Regions from separate parts of the Homo sapiens genome. Here all the other regions are linked to region 3. Evidence: promoter capture Hi-C in 16 types of primary human blood cells and fetal thymus (Javierre and others, 2016). All regions are on one chromosome and are shown on one strand. Each heading gives the region's core, a stretch centred on a gene start or on the middle of the fragment in contact. The rest is flanking DNA. Distances are from core to core; before and after follow the strand shown. Region 1 overlaps MIRLET7IHG (MIRLET7I host gene). Region 2 has its middle 32 kb from the start of MIRLET7I. Region 3 holds the start of MON2-AS1 (MON2 antisense RNA 1).

Region 1 (3,605 bases), core at 362-2,861, 130 kb after region 3:
GGGCCACAGATGGCCTCTGTTGCATATGCTGCTGGGTCTCCACCTTCCTCCTCCTTTTCTTCCCTTCCTCTTCCTTCTTTTTCTTCTTCTCTTTCTTCTTTCTCTTTAAAAGCATAAAATCATTCTCAGCTCTTGGGCCATACAGAAACAGGCCATAGGCCAGATTTGACTTCTAGGCCATAGTTTGCCGACCCTCCATTTTAGAACTTAGCTTTCCTGAAAGAGCATTTGGGTCTCTCTCTCTCTTTCCCTTTCTCTCTCTCTGTCTCTCTCTCTCTCTCTTTCAGTAAGTGAAGTAAGAAATAGGTCTTTCTTGAGGAACAAAAAGCTGAAATAATTTCATGCATTTGAATATGACCCTTGACCTGTTTTTGTCCATCATCACTCAGATTTGTGGCTGCAACCACCAACCAATTTGGTGCCATAGGATATAGCATAATTTTTCAGCAACAGTTCATAAGCTTTTCTTTTTGTTCTTTTTCCTTCTTCCAGTTGTGGTGGTTTAAAAACATGTCTGCAAAATCTTTGACACTTCTCAGTAAAAAATATAGTCTTGTGTTCCCTTTTCTTGAACCTAAGTGGCCTTTGTGCTGCCTCAACAAATAGAATATGACAGAAAAGACACTATGTGACTTTTGAGACAGGGTCATAAGAGGTGATACAGCTTCCCCATGCCCCTGCATTTTAGAGCTCTGGGTTGCCATGTAAGAATAGCTACCCTGAAGCTACCATGCTGAAGAGACCACAGGGAAATCACATAGAGTTAGAAAGAGGTGTCTGAAGAAGCCCAGCTGCTCCCAATCCCAGCTATTTAAGTCCTCCCAGACCAGGTGCCATATATATGAGTGAGCAAGCCTTCAGATGGTTCCAGCACCAGCCACCATCTAGCTGTAAGCTCATGAGACCCCTTCAACGAAAACCATCTAGATTAGCTTAGTCAAGCCCCAGAACCGTGAAAGACAATAGACTTGCTATGGAGGTCGCCACATGCCTCTTTTTTCTCCCTTTGTGAATGGGATTATTTATAATGGTTACCCCATACCTACTCCACTATGTATATTGGGTATGAGGGAGAGATAATTTGTCTCACTAGCTGACAGATTTTTCAGACCTCAAGGAATGCCACGTGAGCTGTACTCACAGGACCACACACAAGTATCTTTATCCACACGTGACCTGATTTCACTGATAAAGTCCTGGACCTTGAGCCTGAGCCCAATGTCTTAATAAATGAGAATTTCAGAAGGTCTTGGGAGGGGGTGAGTATATTTTGCATGTGGGAAGGATGTAAATAATATGTGGCCTGAGAGCAGATTATGGTGGTTTGAAAATGTGTCCACCAATTCTTTAATACTACTCTCAACAAGAGGTGGAATCTGTGTCTCTTCCTTTGGAACATGAGTGGACCTTTGTGATTAAATGCAGCAGAAGGATGCTGTGTGAACTCTGAGACAGGGTAATAAGGGGTGATACAGCTGCCACCTAGTTCTTTCTCAGAACATGTGCCTTTGGAGCCCTGAGCTGCCATGGAAGAAAACCACCTACCCTGAAGCCACAACACTGGAAAGACCATGTGGAAGAACCACAGAGAGAGAGAAGAGGACCAAATGTGTGAGCCTTCCCAGCCCAGGCTCCAAATATGCAAGTAGTAAGCCTTCATTTCTTTTTGGTTTTAATTTTTTTTTTTAAATAAATCGAAATGGGTTCTCACTATGTTGCCCAGGCTGGTCTTGAACTCCTAAGCTCAAGTAATCCTCCTACCTCAGTCTCCCAAAGTGCTGGAATTGTAGGCATGAGCCACCATGCCCGGCTGCAATTAGTAAGTCTTCAGATGCTTCCATCACCAGCCACCATCCGATGACAACCCCATGAATGACCCTCAGCAAGAACTACCTAGCTGAATCCAGCCAAACTCCAGACCCATGAGAGAGAAATAAAATTGTTGTTTGAGTCACTAAATACGGAGTAATTTATATTATCAACAGATAACTGGAACCACAAGTGTAATTGTTAAAGGTAAAACTTTGAATACATTTATATTTGCCTTCTGCCACATTCCATAATTGACTTTTGTTCATGAACCTATTGGCAAGTTTGCCTTATTGCTTTTCCTTCTTCCCTCTTTTTTTTTTTTGTAACTTAAAAAATCATATAATAAAACAACACAAAAATGTATTTGAATGTAGGTTGAGTGACCGTAAATAAGCACAAAACTTCTCCTTCCTGTGACTCTCTTGTCTGTATATGCCAAGTATCTAACACAAGGCCTGCCTGGCACATAATTTTTTTTTTTAAATGTTAGTCTCTTTTATCATTCTTTTTCCCTGTCAGTGGTATTATCTTTACCCATGGAATCCAGCACCCTCATGCTGACTTATAGTTCCCCAAAGTCCCTAACCTCTACAGTCCTCTCCAACCCCCACCCCAGGCCTCTCTCTATGTTCCAGACATTTTCTGGCTTTTTACCATTATCCAAACTCTGAACTTATCTACTTAGTTTTTATAAAAAAACACAGAGTGACTACATAGCTAATATAAATAATGCCAGTGTTAACACAAAAATTTGACTTGAATGATTACAATAGCAAACTTCAATGTTTACCCCATGGAATAGGCAGAAAATTTCAAGCACTTTTCTAGGCCACCTGAGTCTATTTTGAGTAAGGATCCTTAAGTTGATACTCAAGTAATGACATTGATGCAATGTAGAAGACTATGCTAAAATTTGTCCTGGCTTCTCTCCATGCTATGGGCCATCTGTAAAGCTTTGGAGTCTAGGTCAGATGTATGCGTTGTCTCCTCTTTGCTACCATTTTTGTACAGATTTCTAATCTAAATAAAATTAATGGCAATAACAGTGTGGAAAGGGAAAGCCTAAAAGAAAGAGGGTTTTTGAAGAGTGGGGGACCAGAAAAGAAGAGGACAATTTTACCTGAATTGTTTTACTTTAGAAAATAAATTTGTTCATGTGATTCTGTGAGTCAATTTACACATGTATATAAATACACATTTCTTTATTTAACCATTATTATTATCACTATGTGATCCCTCAATGTGCTGGCTACCACGGGTGTAAGATAAATTACAGAAACTCCTTATTCTGAAGGATTCCAACAACAATTTGGCATTGTGCACTGTATGGGGCCTGGGAAAATCCTCTGATTTGCCATACCTTAGGAAAGGTCTTTGCATGATACTAGGCCATGTCTCTTACTACAATGATGAGCATTCTTAGATTTAAAAATAATACCAAGCTGTCAGGAAAACTGAATTCCATCAATAATAACATCTTTTCATAAACTGAAAGCTTGCAAAGCCTTAATTAAAAAAATGAATTTATTACTAAGTGAATTTAATTCACAAAAGGAATTTTCCCCAATATTTAGGCTGTTGTTGGTTTTGGCTTTGTTTTTAATTAACATTTTTAGTTGTATGGTTTGATCAAATACTGAATTTGAGTTCAAAGATACATTTCCTCTGAGGATGCAGTCTAAAGAGGCCAAGTAAATAATAGAAAATCATAGTTTCCAAGTTTCGCAGAACAAAGCTCAGTAGTTCCATGACTTTTTCAGTGTTCTACAGAATTGAGCTACTCCCTCTTACAC
Region 2 (3,809 bases), core at 279-2,778, 150 kb after region 3:
ACGAGAGGGAGGCGATCTGCAAGCCAACCAAAGAAGCCTCAGGAGAAACTGAACCTGCTGGCACCTTAGCCACCCAGTCCGTGATATTTTATTATGGCACACGAATACAGGTACTAAGGAGGTCTGTCCAGAAGTCAGTCCTGAAGTCCTCCCTCCTCCTCCGTGACCTGGGAACTCTCCCTCAGGATGGTACTGGCCTGGCACAACTTTTCTTTTTGTTATATTCCAGGTGTTCTTGTTCTTTGAGACAGGAACCTATACCCAGTGAAATTTCCCTGTTGCTGAGTCTTTATTTCTACCCCTCTTGTTTGATTTTTCAGTTTTGTCCTGTGTAAGATTCCCAGATAAAATAGAAGACACCCATTTAAATTTGAATGTCAGATGATAGTAGTTTTTTAGTATGAGTACAACCCAAATATTGCAAGGGACATACTTAATTTAAAAAATTCTTTATCTGAAATTCAAATCCAAGTAGATGTCCTGTATCTTTTGTCTGATAAGTCTGCAAACGTTACTTTAGAGGTGTGTCCTTAGTATCTTTACACAGTGTTTCTCACCTTAGAATCAGCTAGAAAACTTTTTTTTTTTGAGATGGAGTTTCGCTCTTGTTGCCCAGGCTGGAGTGTAGTGGTGTGATCTCGGCTCACCGCAACCTCCACTTCCTGGGTTCAATCGATTCTCCTGCTTCAGCCTCCCAAGTAGCTGCAATTACAGGCACGTGCCACCACACCTGGCTAATTTTGTATTTTTAGTAGAGACGGGTTTCTCCATGTTGGTCAGGCTGGTCTTGAAATCCTGACCTCAGGTGATCCGCCCGCCTCGGCCTCCCAAAGTGCTGGGATTACAGGCGTGAGCCACCGTGCCTGGCCAAAACATTCAAAAGATACTGATGATTGGGTCCCTCCCTGGGGGATTCTGATTTAATTGGTCTGAGGTCTGACCTGGTAGACAGGGTTTTTTTAATGCTCCCAGGTGATGTTAACATGCAGCCAAGCTACAGAAGCACTGCAGGAAGGGACAGGTATTAACTAAATGTTCACAGCTATTTCATTGTTGTATTTAAGCTCCCTTAAGCTTAAATTCTTTGGGTTTCTTGTTCCTTTGTTCTGCTAAAAATGTCATCTTATTACTCCTCTTATTGCTGAGCCCAGAGGCAAAGGTCAAACAGATCATCGAAAAATGCCCTGTTAGTATGTGAAATGGTCATCTTATTTCAGGTCAACTGAGCCCATAGAGAGAGATGTCAAGAGCTGTAATATTGATACCACCACAGCAAATGACTTTCCATCCAGACACATTCGGTTTTATAACAAATAGTGCAACTGGGCACCCTGGTAAAAGATTTACCTTTTACCATTACTTTTATTACAGACCACTGCTCAAGAATGTAGGATCTGTTTTAAGCATACTTCTAGTTCAAGAGGATTTGAACATAATTTCGTTCAGTTCTTCCAGACCCTGACTATCTGTCCTTTTTGACTATTAGTTGGCATTTATAGAGAGCCAAATCTTACTTGCTCCTCACTATTTACTGAAAAGTTGGAAGATTCAGGTACTATGGTTAAAACCCGTGGGGTAACACACCATTCATTCTGCTTGTGTAAGGGCCTTATAATGGGGTCTGGTACTCAATGTCACCATGAAGACAAGCCTTGACAACATACACCTTCATAGTGCATGCTAAGGAGCTGTTGGCAGAGCTACAGCTGAGCAAGAGTCAAAACTAGATGAGAGGAAAATAAGATGCCTGTGACAAAAACACATTTTATAGAAAATGGTGCTGGTGGGTCAGCAGATGACATTGATTAGTTAGTATGTCTCAGTGCAAAGTTCAGGGATGGGGATTCAATGTGAAAGGGCTTTGTTAAAAATGCCATCCAAATAAGGGTGTACACAATGGAGGTTTTGTGACTAGCCCTTATTATCTAATGAGAAGTTACAGAAAACTGGAGTGGTAATTGGCAGTTGGGTGTCGACTACATATAAGCTTTAGATTTGAAATATTGGCTTTGGTGCTACTTGGCACTGTGTCCATGGGAAACTACTTTACCTACCTGAACTTTTATTTTTTCATGTGGAAAAGGGCTTTCAGAATGGCAGAATAAAAACCTCTGAAAATCTACTCCTCCATACAAAGAAAATTCTGGCAAAAATTGCCAGAACCAACTTTTTCAGAACTCTGGAAATTAACCAAAGGACTGCAACAATCTGAGGAATGTGTATTCAAGAAAAATGGCTGAACCTCAGTAAAAATAGGGAGCTTTGTGACATTTAGTTTTAAAGAGACAGGGTCTCTGTCACCCAGGCTGGAGTGCAGTGGTGCAATCATAGCTCACTGCAGCCTCAAACGATCCTCCCACTTCAGTCTTCTGAGTAGGTGGGACTACAGGTGCGTGCCACCATGCCCAGCTAATTTTTATTTTTTATTTTTAGAGGCAAGACTTTGCCTCTAAAGTTGCTCAGGCTGGTCTCAAACTCCTGGGCTCAAGCGATCTTCTCACCTCAGCATCTTTGAATAGTCGGGATTACAGGCATGTGACACCTCACCTGTATGTAACATTTTTACTTGACCAATCTCCTTACCCTTCTTTCCAGATCTGTGGTAGGCTTGAACACTAACAGCTTCTCAACCATGACAGCTCTGAGTACCAGCAGACTAGCAGCCAACAGTGAGGCAGAATAGGTTTGCAGCCCTAGCAGACCTGTTTACAAGAAATGCTTTTTTTTTTTTTTTTTTTTTTTTGGAGACAGGGTCTCACTCTGCTGCCCAGGCTGGAGCACAGTGGTGTGATCATGGGTCACTGCAGCCTCAGACTCTTGGGTTCAGTGATCCTCCTACTTCACCCTTTCACGCAGCCAGGACTACAGGTGCACACCCGGTTTATTTGTAAACTTTTTTTTTTTTTTGAGACAGAGTCTCGTTCTATCACACAGGCTGAAGTGCAGGCATGATCTCTGCTCACTGCAACCTCCGTCTCCCCGGCTCAAGCGATCCTTCTGCCTCAGCCTCCCAAGTAGCTGGGACTACAGGTACATGACGCCACATCCGGCTAATTTTTGTATTTTTTTGTGGAGATGGGGATTTGATATGTTGTCCAGGCTGGTCTCAAACTTCTGAGCTCAAGTGATCCACCCATCTTGGCCTCCCAAAGTGCTGGGATTACAGGCATGAGCCACCACACTGGCTAAGTTTTTTGTAGACATGGGGTTTCACTATGTTGTCCAGGTTGGTCTTGAACTCCTGGCCTCAAGTGATCCTCCCACCTTGGCCTCCCAAAGTGCTGGGATTACAGGCATGAGCCATATACCTGGCCTACAAGAAATACTAAGGGGAGTCCTTCAGGCTAAAATGAAGGGACACTAGGGAATAACTTGAATCCACATGAAGAAATAAAGGATGCTGGTAAAGGTAAATACACAGAAACCATAAAAGGCAGTAGAAATGTATTTTGTTTCTAATTCTTTTCTTCTCCCATATAATTTAAAAGACAACTACATAAAACAATAATTACTAAACTGTTGACAGGCTTATACTGTAGAGAGTTGTAATTTGTATGACAAATAGCACAGAAGAGAAGGAAGGAAATGGAAGTATATATTGCAGCTAAGTTTTTGTTTACTATTGAAATTAAGTTTGTATTAATCCAAACTATATTGTTTTAAGATGTTATTGTAATCTTCAGGACAACCATTAAGAAAATAACTCTGTTAGGAGAGCAGTGGGGTCCTCAGTATGGTTCCTTTAGGCAGCTCTGCTGACCCCACCCTTTCCTGAACTGCCCTTCTGTCCCAGAGGAGTCACGCTGACC
Region 3 (3,913 bases), core at 671-3,170:
AGATCCTGTCTCTAAAAAAAAGGGGAAAAAAAGTAAAAAGAAACAGACATTTAATTTTAATAATAATTTAACGTAATAATTTGAAATATTATTTCAACATGTAGTCAGTATAAATATTTAGGGGATAGGTTATATTCTTTTTTTTAATACTAAGTCTTCAAAACCTAGTATATATTTTACACTTAGAGCATAGCTCAATTCAGACTGGCCACATTTCAAGTGCTTAATAGCCACATGTAGCCAAATGGCTACCAAATTGGACAGTGCAGTTCTGTGGCATTCTGTAAAATACTATGTGACTTGCCAGTACTGCCCGCTAAACATACTACGGTTAATGAAGTGTTTGGTTATCCATTCTCAAAAAAGAAAACAAAGTAGCTTTTAAAATCCAACACAGGTCTGGGCACGGTGGCCCATGCCTGTAATCCTGGCACTTTGGGAGGCTGAGATGGGTGGATCACTTGAGGTCAGGAGTTCAAGACCAGCCTGGCCAACTAAAAATACAAAAAGTACAAAAATAAAACACTCTACTAAAAATACAAAAATTAGCCAGGCATGGTGGTGGGTGCCTGTAATCCCAGCTACTTGGGAGGCTGAGGCAGGAGAATGGCTTGAACCAGGGAGGCGGAGGTTGTAGTGAGCCAAGATCGTGCCATTGGACTCCAGCCTGGGCAACAAGAGCAAAAAACTCCATCAACAATAAATAAATAAATCCAACACAGTAGTTTTACTTGATTTTGCAGTGTTCTATAATTTTTTTGTGTGTGGTGGAGAGAGAGGAGGCTTGAAATGGGGAAAAGGAGCCTAATTATTTTCAGTAGATTTTGTTTTTGTTTGTTATTTTTATTCTCGGAAAATTTAACTTTGCAGGGGATTGAGGTATTCCAGATAATGCCTTAAGGCAGAGGAAGGCAACATGTTGTAGTGCATTCAGAGTTTGCATGTGAATAATCAAATTAATCATGTTTTATTACATTTAACGTATATGTCACTACTGGGCTTAGTATCTGATGGTTTGAAAATTAAAAAGGTGGTAGGGTAGTGACTGACTTTGTGCTTGATATTTTGTCTATCACATATGACTTATTTTCCATAGATAATTCATTTTGGCAGTAAATTTTGTGTTCTAATTATTTTTATTCTTGCAGGCTGCTGAATCAGGAATAATAAAAGTTAAAACAATTGCTGCACGAAACACTGAAATTTTGGCAGGTAATTTTTTGTATTAAAAATTTAATAATAAACAAAAATTTGACTAATAGTAAAAGTAGAATCTTTATTGTAAAAGCCATCAGTTTTCTGTAACATCTCTTCCTCATGCCCTAACATATGCTATTCATAATGAAACAGAATGGGCAAAAGTCCATAACTTATGAACTGACTGTATTTCCCAGAGACGAATGCTACAAAAATTCTCTGAAATCAGAAAGCTTAACACTACTGACTCCTTAAAGGCAAGGAATTTTTTCTTACTCATCTTCGCATTCTCCTCCACTTCCTGCTAATCACCTGAGACACACCATAAAAAGCATTCAGTAATATTTGTTCCATTGTATTGAATGAAAGATTTGTTCTCAGTCCACCTTCTGTGATCTACTTTCTCTTTAATATAATACGAACAGTTCATAACATAGTCTTCTGTATTTAGTTGTACCGTATGAATTTTGAGTCTTGGGATTAAGGCAGTATGATCATGAAAAAAGAATGAGAGTGAAGTAGAGAAAAGAAAACAAAAATGTTTTCTTACCTTCTCTTGATTGAACCTGATTTTCAAGGAGGAATTTTCAGGAGTTTCTCTTTGGCATCCTTCTTTTCTACCCAGTCCACTCCTTTCTCTTCCTTGGTGCCTTTTGTTCTTGCCTCAATAATGAACATGGAAAAGAGGTAAACTGGCTTTTTTTTTTTTTTTTTTTTAAGAATCTGTTATATGCAAGGCACTTGTGTCATTCTATCTTACATAACAACCTTGTGGGGAAATATTATCTTATTTGATAGTAGAGCTAATTGAGATGTGAAGAGGTTAAGTTACTTGCCCAAGGTCACAGGAAAGGTGATAGAACCAGATTAAAATCCAGGAGTGTTCAGGAGCCCATGTTCTTCCTGCTACAGTGTGCTACCATGGTATCACCAGGTTTCCACGTTAGCCACTTACTCCCAAGTATTACATATGTAACCAGTGCTTGCTTCAGTGATCCTTTAATCTGCATTTCCAGTTCCAGTAGTGCTGTTGATCTCAGCTAATCTATGAGGAAAGTAGTCCTATTAAATTAATTTACAGAGTCCAAATAGTAAATAATCTCTTTAACTTTCATATACTTTACATTTTTTAAAAGGGATACCAGTAAATCTGTAACTGGTGGGATTTCAGAGTGTTATGAAATGAAATTAAGATTTTTGGGGTCAGATTAAGGATCGGGGGCAAGAGTGGATTTCACTTAGGCTATCCAGCTTTGCTGGAAATTTGCCCTTAGCATAAGCGCTCCTCAATTACATCTGTTTCCCACAGCTTTTTCCCTGATTTTGAACAGTCTTATCAAAACACCCAATAGTTTTATAACATTATGCACAGAAGTAAATAATGCTCTGTGTGCATATTGAGAAGTGGTATAGTGAAAGTGGTGGGTAAAGGCAGAGGTGCACATGGTAGGGTTAGGAAGGCTGGCAAGTGGGTTTTTTTTGTTTGTCTGTTTGTTTTTCCTGAGATGGACTTTTGCTCTTGTTATCCCAGCTGGAGTGCAATGGTGTGGTCTCGGCTTACTGCAACCTCTGCCTCCTGGGTTCAAGCGATTCTCCTGCCTCAGCCACCCGAGTAGCTGAGATTTCAGGTGCCCAACACCACATCTGGCTAATTTTTGTATTTTTAGTAGAGACAGGGTTTCATCATGTTGGCTAGGCTGGTCTCGAACTCCTGACCTCGGGGTTCTCCCGCCTCGGCCTCTCCAAGTGTTGGGATTACAGGCGTGAGCCACTGCGCCCGGCCAGCATGTGGGTTTTAATGGGAGATGTACATTAGGCAGATTAGCTACTGTGGGGAAATTGGTGTTTAAAGAAAAATGATGACCTGGATATTTTTATGTTGGAGACTTACCATAGGCCAATCGTATTAGAATATCACTGTAAATATTTAAAATATTTACTGTTGCTAATATCATTGTTGATACCGTGGTAAGTCCTTAATTATTCTCCAATAATACAAATTTTTATTGGTTTTATAGTTTGTGGAAGACTTTTTTTAAAAAAAGACTGATTTCCTCAGAGGATCACTGTTATTCCAGCATTCTATCCCAAGTAAAATGTCTAATAAATTACTCTTAAGATGAGTAAGAAAAATTTTGACTTAGTCGGTATGATTTAAATATATAGGCAGGCTGTTAATTTCATTTTAATTCAATTTGCATTATTCAAATCAAGTTAGAACAGATCTGGTGCAAATACAATTAATAGTCATGTTTTAATCTTCGTAGTATCCAGAGCCCATATACTTGAGGAGGTATATTTGCACTTAAACTTTATCCTAGTATTTTTTCTGAAGTATTTAAAGCAATTATACCTAAAAGTTGTAGATTTATAGACCACTATCATCTTGAAAATCAGAGGCTCTTCAAAACAGAGTTTAAATTAGTCAGTATATAGTTTCTAAACTATATAATTAAGAGTACAGTTAATACTGAGAAAAATTTTTAGTTAACTTTTTAAAATTTCATGAGAAGTATTTACTTCTTTATGGTACTTGAGACTATAGGAGACTATACTACTTTTGTGCTCTAATGTATGTCAAAAATACCAAACAATTGAGGAGTCTCAAATGAGATTGGATATTGAAATCTCATATGTCTCTGTATATTCAGAATATATAAAGATTTGTTGTAAGAATGATAACTTTTAATTTGGATCAAGTAGTTTAATTAATGAT

The links. The method cuts DNA at HindIII sites, captures the fragments that hold promoters and counts their contacts. A CHiCAGO score of 5 or more calls a contact.
Region 1: a contact is called between a fragment that was not itself captured here and the fragment with the promoter of MON2-AS1 in region 3, in 3 of 17 cell types (total B cells, naive CD8 T cells and naive CD4 T cells). The highest score is 6.4, in total B cells.
Region 2: a fragment that was not itself captured here is called in contact with the fragment with the promoter of MON2-AS1 in region 3 in 1 of 17 cell types (total B cells); the score reaches 5.7 in total B cells.

The regions. Positions count from the first base shown.
Region 1 is chr12:62,614,739-62,618,343 of GRCh38, forward strand. It overlaps MIRLET7IHG (MIRLET7I host gene), which reads left to right. Exons shown (of 2, transcript NR_186001.1): 2 at 1-3,605. Among named protein-coding and RNA genes, the nearest start is that of MIRLET7I, 13 kb to the left of the region's middle. The HindIII fragment of the contact is 2,304 bases long and covers 460-2,763 here.
Region 2 is chr12:62,633,999-62,637,807 of GRCh38, forward strand. No RefSeq gene overlaps it. Among named protein-coding and RNA genes, the nearest start is that of MIRLET7I, 32 kb to the left of the region's middle. The HindIII fragment of the contact is 913 bases long and covers 1,073-1,985 here.
Region 3 is chr12:62,483,022-62,486,934 of GRCh38, forward strand. MON2-AS1 (MON2 antisense RNA 1) reads right to left here and starts at 1,921. Exons shown (of 2, transcript NR_186172.1): 1 at 1,748-1,921; 2 at 1-11. It overlaps MON2 (MON2 regulator of endosome-to-Golgi trafficking), which reads left to right. Exons shown (of 35, transcript NM_015026.3): 2 at 1,149-1,212. The HindIII fragment of the contact is 7,471 bases long and covers 1,429-3,913 here.